Linked DNA regions of Homo sapiens: all the other regions are linked to region 2. Evidence: promoter capture Hi-C in human tissues and cell types (Jung and others, 2019). All regions are on one chromosome and are shown on one strand. The core of a region is centred on a gene start or on the middle of the fragment in contact, and the rest is flanking DNA. Distances in the headings are between cores, read along the strand shown. Region 1 overlaps RASL12 (RAS like family 12). Region 2 holds the start of PIF1 (PIF1 5'-to-3' DNA helicase). Region 3 has its middle 6.0 kb from the start of MTFMT. Region 4 overlaps MTFMT (mitochondrial methionyl-tRNA formyltransferase).

Region 1 (2,700 bases), core at 110-2,609, 230 kb after region 2:
AGAGTCTGTGCAAGACTTCCCTGGGACCTGGCGTGTGGTAAACAAAATCAGACAACTACCACACTGCCTGCCTTGGACAGCCTTTTCTTGCTAACAGTGGGATCTCAAAGGTGTGTCCTGATCCCATGTCTGAGCCATGGTGTCTTGGTATAAGCTGCGGTGACACCACCAAATAACATAAGCAAAATTTTGCTTTATTAACCCAAAATGCTTTAGGTTCTAAAGTGGGCTTTGAACACTCAGACTCATTGCTGAGGGTCCTGGGTCCTGCCAAACCAGATGACAAACGGGTATACTGTGTTTCTACCTGCAGGGGGGCAGGCCCTGTAGCCCCTGGATGGGTCTGATGCTGCTGTGGGCTCCCTGGAGCCCTGGGTAACTCACTGGAGTGACAACTTTCTTCTGCAGCCTGGATCATTAAGCTTGAGGGAGCTGATGCTGAGGTTCTTTGGACAGAGTCCTTAACAGTGGGAAAACACATGGAGAATCTGTCTGCTGGTGAAAGAACTCTGGGGCTCCTTATGCTGGACAACCTACAGTCCCTCCCTTTTATCCTCATTGAGACGCCAAGTGTTGGAAATACCCCTTCCTGGGGCTTCTGTCCATTGGATTATTTTAACTAGATTTTCCTTGGATAAACTGTGGGGTTTGTAGCCTGGGCCTTCTGTGAAGTCAGCAGATGACAGGAGGGCCAGGCTCTGGCCTCTGAAACTGCAGCCGCCCTGCCTTTCCCGTCCACCAGGTGGCACAAGGACCCCAGGCTGTCATTCCGCAGGCTGTTCTCGGGCCTGACATTGACAGAGCCATCCACCCAGACCATCCACTAAGGCCACAGCTGGCCCAACTGTAGCTGGAGCAGGAAGGGCTGATGGCAGCAGGATAGACACTGCAATTTCTTCCTACTTAAGGCTGACCCCAGGTCTCTGGGTTGTCACAGTGGCTGTTTCCCTCTACGGCCACAGACGCGGTGGTTACCATGAAGACCAAGGCCTGGAGGGAACAGAAGCAGCATCCCTGCCTGCCACTCCAGCTCACACAGTGAATTGAGTGTAGGGACACTGCTTGGTGCTGGAGGCGGGGTCTGCTGTCCATCAGACGGAAAGGCTGGTGGTGAGAAGCCAGTCCCTGTCCTGCTGCAGTCCTGTCCAGCCACCGAGCCTAGGCTTCCTGGGGAGGGGGCCTCAGAAGATCTTGAAGCCCTTCAGGAGAGTCAGGGTAGGCGCCTTGCGCTTGCTCTGGGCCCGGGATGACTTCACGGTGACCAGCTTGGCCTGGGCCACAGTGGGCATCTCCTTCAGGTTGATGGTGGAGAGCGTGTTGAAGGTGCAGCTGGCCAGCCCATGCCGCGCGGTGAGCGGGGCCTGGTGGGGCAGGGCCCTCTCCTCGGAGATGAAGAGGGGCCGGGTCAGGGGGCTCTTCTCCAGCTCCCGCCGTGCCTCTCGCACTGCCTCGTGGAAGACATGCTGCACGTGCTCAAAGTCCAGACAGGCAGAGACCTCGAAAAACAGGCACCCAAACCTGCCTGCCAAAGCCACACCCTCTGCCTTGGTGACTTGCCTGGTGAGGAAGCAGTGTGAGGCAGGGAGTTAGGAGCAGGCTGTGCCAAGTCAGGCAGACCAGCTCCTACACCCAGCGCCCCATGGACTAGCTGGGTGGCCTGGGGTCATCTTCACCTCTCTGAGTCTCAGCGTTCTTATCAGTACAGTGGGTTACTGCCCTCTGCCTCTCAGGGTTGTTAGGATTACGAAAGACAATTTGTTTCAAGTGCTTAGCACAGTACCTGGCACAGAGTCAGTGCTCAATAAATGGTAGCTGATGTCACCCAGGCCAGAATTTTGGGATGAGGGTAAGGGTAAGAAGCTACTCCAAATCCCCTATGCTAGACCCTGCCTGTGGCTGGAGGAAGCAGGCCATTCCCAGCCCCATCTCTTCTCTACCCCATCGTGGGTCCCTGGGGCAGGAAACAGGCCACCCACAGCTCTGGCTTGTGGGATCAGCTCTAGAGAGAAGCAGTCGTTTGGACTGAAGGGTTAGACCACAGAGGTGACTCCAGAAGCCTGTGGTTGGCAGAGTTCTCAGGGCTCCTGGGGTTTGTGTTTGTGAAAATTCATTATTCAAGCCCTCACAATGACAAAGTTGCAGATTCAAGCTCATCATAAAAGCAAATAATAAAACCAGGGCAGAGGCAGGAGAGGGCAGGGGGGACAACATTTCATGGTGAGGAGGGCAAAAGGAGAGAGGGGGCAACACCTATTCTGCCTTGGTCCTACACCACCTCCCGTGAAGGGAGGATAGAATATCCGGAACTTGGGAAGGTCCTGGAGGCTTCTGACCTGAAAGCCATGGGAATCGAGGCGGGAAGAAAAAGAAGACTGGCCTTGCATAGGTCGGATGTCTACAAGAGGGAAGAGATGGGGGGGTCCCTGAGATCTTGGGGCCAAGACTCCACTGGCTGGATCTTCCTGACCTACTGCTGAGCTGTCCCGCTGCCCATTCCCGAGGATAATGGCACAGCCACTAGATGAGAGGAGGCACTCGAGTGGGCCATGGTGGGAAAAGTTTCTGAGCCCAAGGCTGACCTGGCAGGAGCAGGGGCTGAGAGTGGGCTAGCTTCCCAGAGTGCCACTCCATGGTGAGGCACGCGGTCTCAGAGAGAGTGAGTAACTGGGACAAAAAAGAGTCAGAGGCATCGGATCTATT
Region 2 (2,700 bases), core at 1-2,500:
ACGTAATGGGTGCTATAGGGGACGTAATGGGTGCTATAAAGGACGTGACAGGGAGCAGGGTCAAGGCTACACAAGATCACGAGGACTGTCACTGGTAACACAAAGAGGTCACAAAGACGGAGAAAGGGCTTTGGGCTAACCGAAAATCCACCCTTAGAATATGCCCTGGGCCGGGCGCAGTGGCTCGCGCTTTAATCCCAGCACTTTGGGAGGCTAAAGTGGGCGGATCACCTGAAGTTAGGAGTTCTGAGACCAGCCTGGCCAACATGGTGAAACCTCGTCTCTACTAAAAATACAAAAATTAGCCGGGCGTGGTGGCGGGCGCTTGTAATTCCAGCACTTTGGGAGGCTGAAGAAGGAAGATCGCTTGAGCCCAGGAACTCGAGACCATCCTGGGCAACATAGCGACACCCTCTAATTAAAAAAAAAATACATACATATAAATACATACATATGCATACATTATATATATGTGTGTGTGTGTGTGTATATATATGTATATATATATATACACACACGCACCCTGCTACACAATTTCCATTTCTATATATCCAATTTCTATATATATATACACACAATATATATACAATTTCTATATATATACACACACACACACACACACATATACACACACACCGTGCTACACAACAATTTCCAGAGCGGCGGATGGGCACCGAGGATTAGGGAGCCTCAGGTGTCCTGCAAGGACCTCACTAGAACAGGGGTCCCTGCGCAGAAAGAATCCTCCTTCCCCGAGACCCAGGGCGAGCACATGAATCCTCAGAGTACTCTCCCCAGGAAGCAGGAGAATCGCCCGTGGGGAGATGCAAAGAGGGCTGCCGTGTAATAAGCGACTTCTGCCTTGTAGGTACATTCACTGGCTTATATGCAGCGGGCAGGTCTCACTCTTCCCCGTGTACAGACGTGGAAACAGGCTAAGAGAGGGAAACTCACTTGCCCTTCATAAGCCACAGCGGCTAGTAGTCAAAGTCAGTGTGATTCCCATGCCCTCGCGCTTCCCACCACCAAGGTGGGGACGAGGTGGAAAATATTCGGCTAGGGAAATCGCGGGGGACCCTGGGACCCTAGAAGCCGTGCTCCCTCAGGCTGACCCATTTGTTTGCACCCTCCCGCCGGAAACCCCTAGATAAATCAGGCTCTTTGCTCCCCACCTCTGGGTTCGGGCAGACACTCACTTGTGCCGACACTCAGATGAACAAGCAGATCGTAGCCGGCCTGTGGCTAAGCTCCGAAACTAGAAATTTTTCAAATGCTAGAGGCAGAAAATCACCCAATCACCGACTGGATCTTTAAATTCTCCAGCCACTCAGAGGTAGGGGCGTAACAATGGGCGTGTCTTTCTTTGCGTCTCTACTCCAGGAGCTTGGGCTGTACCAATTGCCTGCTAGAGGAAGGAGGTTTATGGTGGTGGCTGAGCATACCAAATCCAGTGGACGGCTGGGCGTGGTGGGAGGAGGCCGCCGCTGCGGCAGCCACCCGGCGGCGCGTGGTGTCGGGTCTGAAAACCCTACGCGACTCCGAAGATTTATTTTCAGAACCATCCTTCCAGCACACTCCCTCTCCCCTCTAGCCCGCACACAGAGGCTGGGCTTAGCCTTGGGGAAGATCTGCCTTTGGACTCTCACACCCCTGTTTACACTCACAGTACCATTGTCCAGTTCTGGGCAGACCACCCCAAGGCCTGCCCAATCCCTCCCCCGCCCCCAACTCTACATCCTTCTCTGCCTTTGTAAGGGACTTTACGCTTTGGCTCTCTCACCCACCTGAGGCCCATGAGTGAGAAACTCTGAGACCTGTGCCACGTGCCAGAGGGTACAGCGGAAGCGAGTAGAGTCTCTGTCTTCAGGGAAATTGTATCCCTCTTCTTGCACAGGATGCTGAAAGAATTTACTTTTAATCATCTTTATTATCTCATTGAAGCTTGGAATTACATAGCTGGAAAGGATCTTACAGGTGAGTCTGGCTACCTCATTTTACAGATAATGATAACTACCATGGATTAAATTGCCCTTTCCTTTCCTTTTTCCTTCTTAGGGCTCACTCTGTCGCCCAGGCTGTAGTGGAGTGCAGTGGCACAATCTCTGCTCACTGCAACCTCTGCCGTGGCGCGATCGTGGCTCACTGCAACCTCCGCCTCCTGGGCTCTGGTGATCCTCCCGCCTCAGCCCCCCAGGTAGCTGGAACTACAGATGCACACCCAGCTAATTTATATATATATATATATATATATATATATATATATATATATACACACACACACACATATATACACACACATATATATACACACACATATATATATACACACACATATATATATATACACACACATATATATATATAATTTTTTTTTCGTATAGACGGGATGTCACCATGTTTCCCAGGCTTGTCTCGAACTCCGGAGGTCAAACGATCCACCCACCGTGGCCTCCCGAAGTCCTAGGATTACAGGCATGAGCCCGGACCTTATTTTTCAAATGAGAAAAAAGCAAGGCTTCCAGAGATTTTACTGAAGGTCACATAGCTGATATGGAGAGCAAAACCAAACATTGAACCCAGATTACCTGCTCGCTTAATCACTCCATGGGGCTTAGCTACTACACCACACTGCTCCCAGTCTGTTAGCGGTAGAGGGTGATGACTGAAAGTTGTCCAGGTTCTTGGCGTTTTGAACAAAGA
Region 3 (2,700 bases), core at 113-2,612, 210 kb after region 2:
AATGATCATCTCAGTCCTTATGTAACAGTTATAGAAAGGCTCATTTGCTTATATCCTGCTCTCCTGTGGGAATCCTACTTGCCTCCAATCTGATGTAGCTGACTCTGTAATAAATTAAACCAGAGCTACCCAGTCTTATCATTAACAGGTGCTTTCTGCTTGCTCCTCACACTTGGCCTAAAGGCCCTTGTATATAAGTCAGAGATCTTGGCTTCTGGAAGAAATATCAAAATAAAATTTACAGCCTTGGGGGTAGGGGCTGAAGGGGCTGTACCAGGCACTTTTTTTTTTTTTTTTTTTTTTTTTGAGACAGAGTCTTGCTCTGTCACCCAGGGTAAAGTGCCGGGACGTGATCTCGGTTCACTGCAGCCTCGACCTCCCAGGCTCAGGTGATCCGCCCGCCTCAGCCTTCCAACTATAGGCACGCGCCACCATGCCCAGCTAATTTTTTTTTGTAGAGACAGGGTTTTGCCATGTTGCCGAGGCTGGTCTCGAGCTCCTGGGCTCAAGCAATCCTCCTGCTTTGGCCTCCCAAAATGCTGGGATTACAGGCTGCACCACTGCGCCCGGCCAAAATGCACATCCTCTTTACAGGGGAAATTCCCTACTGTAGATAGCTTTGCTTGAATGAGCTCAACTACAGTGCGAATGCTGGGGCTTATTGTGTTGACTGTACGGTCACCACGGTTGCCGCATCCCGAGGACATGGTCACTTCCTTGACTACCTATCTTGCCTCAAGTTGAACATTTGAATTGTTCCCACTTGTTGGCTATGATGAATAATGCTACCGTGAACATTCATGTGCAAGCTTTTGTGTGGAAATATGTTTCCACCCGCTGGGCACGGTGGCTCACACCTGTAATCCCAAAACTTTGGGAGGCCGAGGCGGGCGATCACTTGAGGTCAGGAGTTCAAGACCAGCCTGGCCTACATGGTGAAACCCCATCTCTACTAAAAACACAAAAATTAATCGGGAGTGGTGGTGCATGCCTGTAGTACCAGCTACTCAGGAGGCCGAGGCAGGAGAATTGCTTGCACCCGGGAGGCAGAGGTTGCAGTGAGCCAAGATCAAGCCACTGCACTTCAGCCTGGGCAACCAAGTAAGACTCTGTCTCAAAAAAAAAAAAGAAATATGTTTCCAATTCTCTTGGGTATATACCTAAAAGTAGAATTGCTGAGTCCCACTCTATGTTTTATTTTTTATTTATTTATTTTTTATTTTTTTGAGACTGAGTCTTGCTCTGTCACCCAGGCCAGACTGCAGTGGCGCGATCTTGGCTCACTGCAAGCTCCGCCTCCCGGGTTCATGCCATTCTCCTGCCTCAGCCTCCCGAGTAGCTGGGACTACAGGTGCCCGCCACCACACCCGGCTAATTTTTTTCTATTTTTAGTAGAGACGGGGTTTCACCATGTTAGCTAGGATGGTCTCGATCTCCTGACCTCGTGATCTGCCTGCCTTGGCCTCCCAAAGTGCTGGGATTACAGGCGTGAACCACTGCGCCCGGCCTCTATGTTTTAATTCTTAGAAGTGACAAGCTGTTTTCCAAAGTGGCTACACCGTTTTACATTCCCACCAGCAGTGAGTGACAGTGTACCATCATATAACTACTGATACTGCAGGGAGTAAACTCAGGAGTTCAGGCCTCTTTGTGTGAACTGATTTTGCCGCTGCACATGGATACCTGGCACATTGTACCAGAGCGCTTACATCTCAGGATTGCCGGGGTGCCTTTGTCTAGAAGCAGATAATTCTGCAAATGTGGACTGCTGACCCAGGATCCACCTATGGAGAATTCATTATGTAGAACTGAATGAAACCAATGATGAAACTCAGATTGTGTTTTGAAATGTTGTCGGTATTTTTTTTTATGTTCTATGTTCTGCTAGGCATATGAAAAACATCTCTTTAGTCCTTTATGTTCCATCTCTAACTCTCAATTTAGCGGGCTTTAAATGTTCAAACTGAAAGGCACTTTCACCACACATAGTTAAAGGAACTACCCTAAATCTCCCTGATTATTAGCTTTGTGAGTCTTACCTTGGTTGCTATATTATTTCAGAGGACCCCTCAAAATTCATGAAATGAATAATATTGTATACTTTAGATCATCCAGTTTTCAGAAATGAGAGACTAAATGCCTCAGAATACCTACCCACATTGCCAAACCCCCTTAGAATCCAAGATGTATTAAATGTTCTGTCTAGGAGGTCAAGACTGTAGAAAATCTTTTTTTTTTTTTTTTTTTTTTTTTTTTTTTTTTTTTTTTTTTGAGACGGAGTGTCTTAACTCTGTCGTCCAGGCTGGAGTGCAGTGGCACGATCTTGCCTCACCGCAACCTCCGCCTCCCGGGTTCAAGCAAGCAATTCTCCCACCTCAGCCTCCTGGGTAGCTAGGATTACAGGCACCCACCACCATGCCCGGCTAATTTTTGTATTTTTAGTAGAGACAGGGTTTCTCCATGTTGGCCAGGCTGGTCTCAAACTCCTGACCTCAGGTGATCCACCTGCCTTGGCTTCTCAAAGTGCTGGGATTATAGGCATAAGCCACCGCACCTGGCCAGAAAACCTTAAATGGAAAATTTAATCCAAATGGATAAATTAATATACAGGTAAATTTAAGGATGATGCCTCCAAAAAGTGCAATTTGTTGTAAAATGGGTTATGCTTAGCAAAACAAAAATTTCCTTAAATTTTTGTTT
Region 4 (2,700 bases), core at 17-2,516, 180 kb after region 2:
CATGTGCCACCATGCCCAGCTAAATTTTTGTATTTAGTAGAGACGGGGCTTCACCATGTCAGTCAGGCTAGTCTCGAACTCCTGACCTCAGCTGATCCACCCACCTTGGCCTCCCAAAGTGCTGGAATTACAGGCGTGAGCCACCGCGCCTGGCCTGTTCTTGTAATGATTAAATGAGAAAATATATGAGAATGAGTGTTGCAAAGAATAAGACAATAAGTGAATGTAAAGTATTATAATTACTGAACTGAAACAAACTAAAAGTTATTTTTAGTAATTGTGACATATGATAAAACAGACGTATTTCCAGATACACTACAGTGAAAACAGCTTCCATGTTAGCTATTCAAAAGTTAGTACCAGCAAGGACTGAACTGTTAACTTCTACCAAATCCAGAAGTTTAATGGTATTCGCCATCCAGAGCGTCTGCAACGGAATCTGCAAGTAAAATTAAAGAAGGTATGATAAAGGAATACACTCAACTCCCAAACCCTTTTCAACTACTATTTTGTGTTAATCTGGACTTTTCTTTCAATTAGAGGAATTGGGAACTCAGTCACTAAGTTTGATGGAACAGACCGTAAACATGACTCTCTACATCAGTGTTTCCAGGATTTATAAGATCTTTTTTTTTTTTTTTTTGAGACGGAGTCTCGTTGTGTCACCAGGCTGGAGTGCAGTGGCGCGATCTTGGCTCACTGCAAGCTCCGCCTCCCGGGTTCACGCCATTCTCCTGCTTCAGCCTCCCGAGTAGCTGGGACTACAGGCGCCTGCAACCATGCCCGGCTAATTTTTTGTATTTTAAGTAGAGACGGGGTTTCACCATGTTAGCCACGATGGTCTCTATCTCCTGACCTCATGATCCGCCCGCCTTAGCCTCCCAAAGTGCTGGGATTACAGGCGTGAGCCACCGCGCCCGGCCGATTTATAAGATCTTAAATGTTACTTTAAAATCAATGTTTATATCTAATATACTAATATTTCCAATTAAAAATTTATTATCCTTATAAAAAATGCAAGCATTACATTATGTTAAAAAATTTTAGAAAGTGATATTCTGTATTTATTCCCATCCCTATAGGTAACGACTGTTAAGTTTGATGTGCATTTCCCTGTATTTTTTTCTACAAATATTATTATAAAAATCTAGAACACAGTGATAGAGACAGGAGACAGCCAAATGCCACCCAGGTCATTATGCACAGTGGGCTTGACTCAACATGTCCATGGTGAAAAGTTCTGTCCCTTAACACATGCACAGTAAAGGAAATAAATCAAGGTGGCGTGGCTCAGACTAAGGGCCCGCATGAGCACTGGAAGAATGGGGGTGGAGCCACCAGGAATTTCTGCCTTATGCAGGGGAAGAGCCTGGCCTCTTCAGCTCCTGTGTGGTGGCCTGGTATTCAATCTGTGAGGTGGGAGCCTGTTGGCAGGACCCCCTCTTTTTTTGCTGAGAGCTTTCTTTTAATAAATTCCACTCTCCTCACCTTTCAATGTGTCCACGTGCCTAATTTTTCCTGGTTGTGAGACAAGAACCCAGATTTTAGCTGAGTTAAGGAGCAAAAAGTCCTGCATCAATACTGTTTTACAAGGACTTTTGTTATGTGACCATAAAGCATTGATGTTTCATCAGTACATACTTATCAATTTCACTCTATCTGCTGCACAGTAACCCATTTTATGAATATGTAATTTATGCAACTACCTTTATGATAGATATTTGTTATTTTCAATTTATTGCTATTTATAACACTATAAACTAGGGTAATAACCTTGTCGATATATCTTTGAGGGCTTACACATTTCTGGATAATAGTTTTGGGGTTTTTTGTTTTTAAAGTGGAATGCGTGGGTTAAACAGCATCAACATTTTATTGCTAAACTGCCTGGATAAGTGAGAAAAAAATATGATAATCTCTTGCTGTTTATTATTAGCGAAGCTGAGAAGCTGTCCATATATTTATGTGCACTTTTAATTTATTTATCTGTAACCTGCCTATTTATGCCCTTTGGTTATATTTTTTAAAACTGGGATGGTTATCTCATTAATTTGCAAAAATATTTTCTATATTTAGGAAATTAGCCTTTTAACTCTTACATGTGTTGTGAATATTTTCCTCAGTTTGTTGACTTTTAATCTTGGGGACAGCCATTTTTTCCATGCATAAGTTTTTTATTTTCATAATTATATTTCTAAGTCTTTTCTCTCATTACTTTGGTGGTTCGTATCATACTTAAAAAGGCCTACCCCACACTTTAAGATTATTAAATATTGTCAAATTATTCAGTTGTGCTTTTTTATAGTCCTTGTGATTTTACTTTTTATATTTAAATCCTTGATCCATCTATATTTTGATTTTTTTATTATGGTAAAAAACACATAAGAAAAATGTGCTCAATTAACAAATTGTAAGTATACCATACAGTATTGTTAACTACATATGCATTGTTATAATATAGCACTTACTATGATTTTAAAAGATAGGATTTGAGGGCTTCCCCCACCAATGGTTGGCCAGTTATCCCAATACTATTTACTAGATAATCCATCTTACCCTTCCCTCCAGTATGAAATACCACCTTTATCATGTAACACATTTCCAACATACCTGAGATCCTACAGCCTGATTTAAATGTTAATAAAATTTAACACACACCAGGAAATAAGTTCTCTAAAATTTCTGAATTGAATGCATTTA

What was found. Contacts are between HindIII fragments. The study calls those that stand out against the background at their distance.
Region 1: a contact is called between a fragment that was not itself captured here and the fragment with the promoter of PIF1 in region 2, in 1 of the 25 tissues and cell types used here (adrenal gland).
Region 3: a contact is called between a fragment that was not itself captured here and the fragment with the promoter of PIF1 in region 2, in 1 of the 25 tissues and cell types used here (spleen).
Region 4: a contact is called between a fragment that was not itself captured here and the fragment with the promoter of PIF1 in region 2, in 2 of the 25 tissues and cell types used here (IMR-90 fibroblasts and spleen).

Annotation. Positions count from the first base shown.
Region 1 is chr15:65,053,718-65,056,417 of GRCh38, forward strand. It overlaps RASL12 (RAS like family 12), which reads right to left. Exons shown (of 5, transcript NM_016563.4): 5 at 1-1,557. The coding sequence ends at 1,182. Among named protein-coding and RNA genes, the nearest start is that of SLC51B, 9.7 kb to the left of the region's middle. RefSeq lists enhancers at 715-1,215, 1,216-1,716. The HindIII fragment of the contact is 7,731 bases long and covers 1-2,700 here.
Region 2 is chr15:64,824,397-64,827,096 of GRCh38, forward strand. It overlaps PIF1 (PIF1 5'-to-3' DNA helicase), which reads right to left and starts at 1,251. Exons shown (of 13, transcript NM_001286496.2): 1 at 1,173-1,251. RefSeq lists enhancers at 1-194, 1,384-1,513. The HindIII fragment of the contact is 20,575 bases long and covers 1-2,700 here.
Region 3 is chr15:65,034,280-65,036,979 of GRCh38, forward strand. No RefSeq gene overlaps it. Among named protein-coding and RNA genes, the nearest start is that of MTFMT, 6.0 kb to the left of the region's middle. The HindIII fragment of the contact is 4,917 bases long and covers 1-2,700 here.
Region 4 is chr15:65,005,753-65,008,452 of GRCh38, forward strand. MTFMT (mitochondrial methionyl-tRNA formyltransferase) reads right to left here. Exons shown (of 9, transcript NM_139242.4): 7 at 361-439. Among named protein-coding and RNA genes, the nearest start is that of SPG21, 17 kb to the left of the region's middle. The HindIII fragment of the contact is 5,429 bases long and covers 1-2,700 here.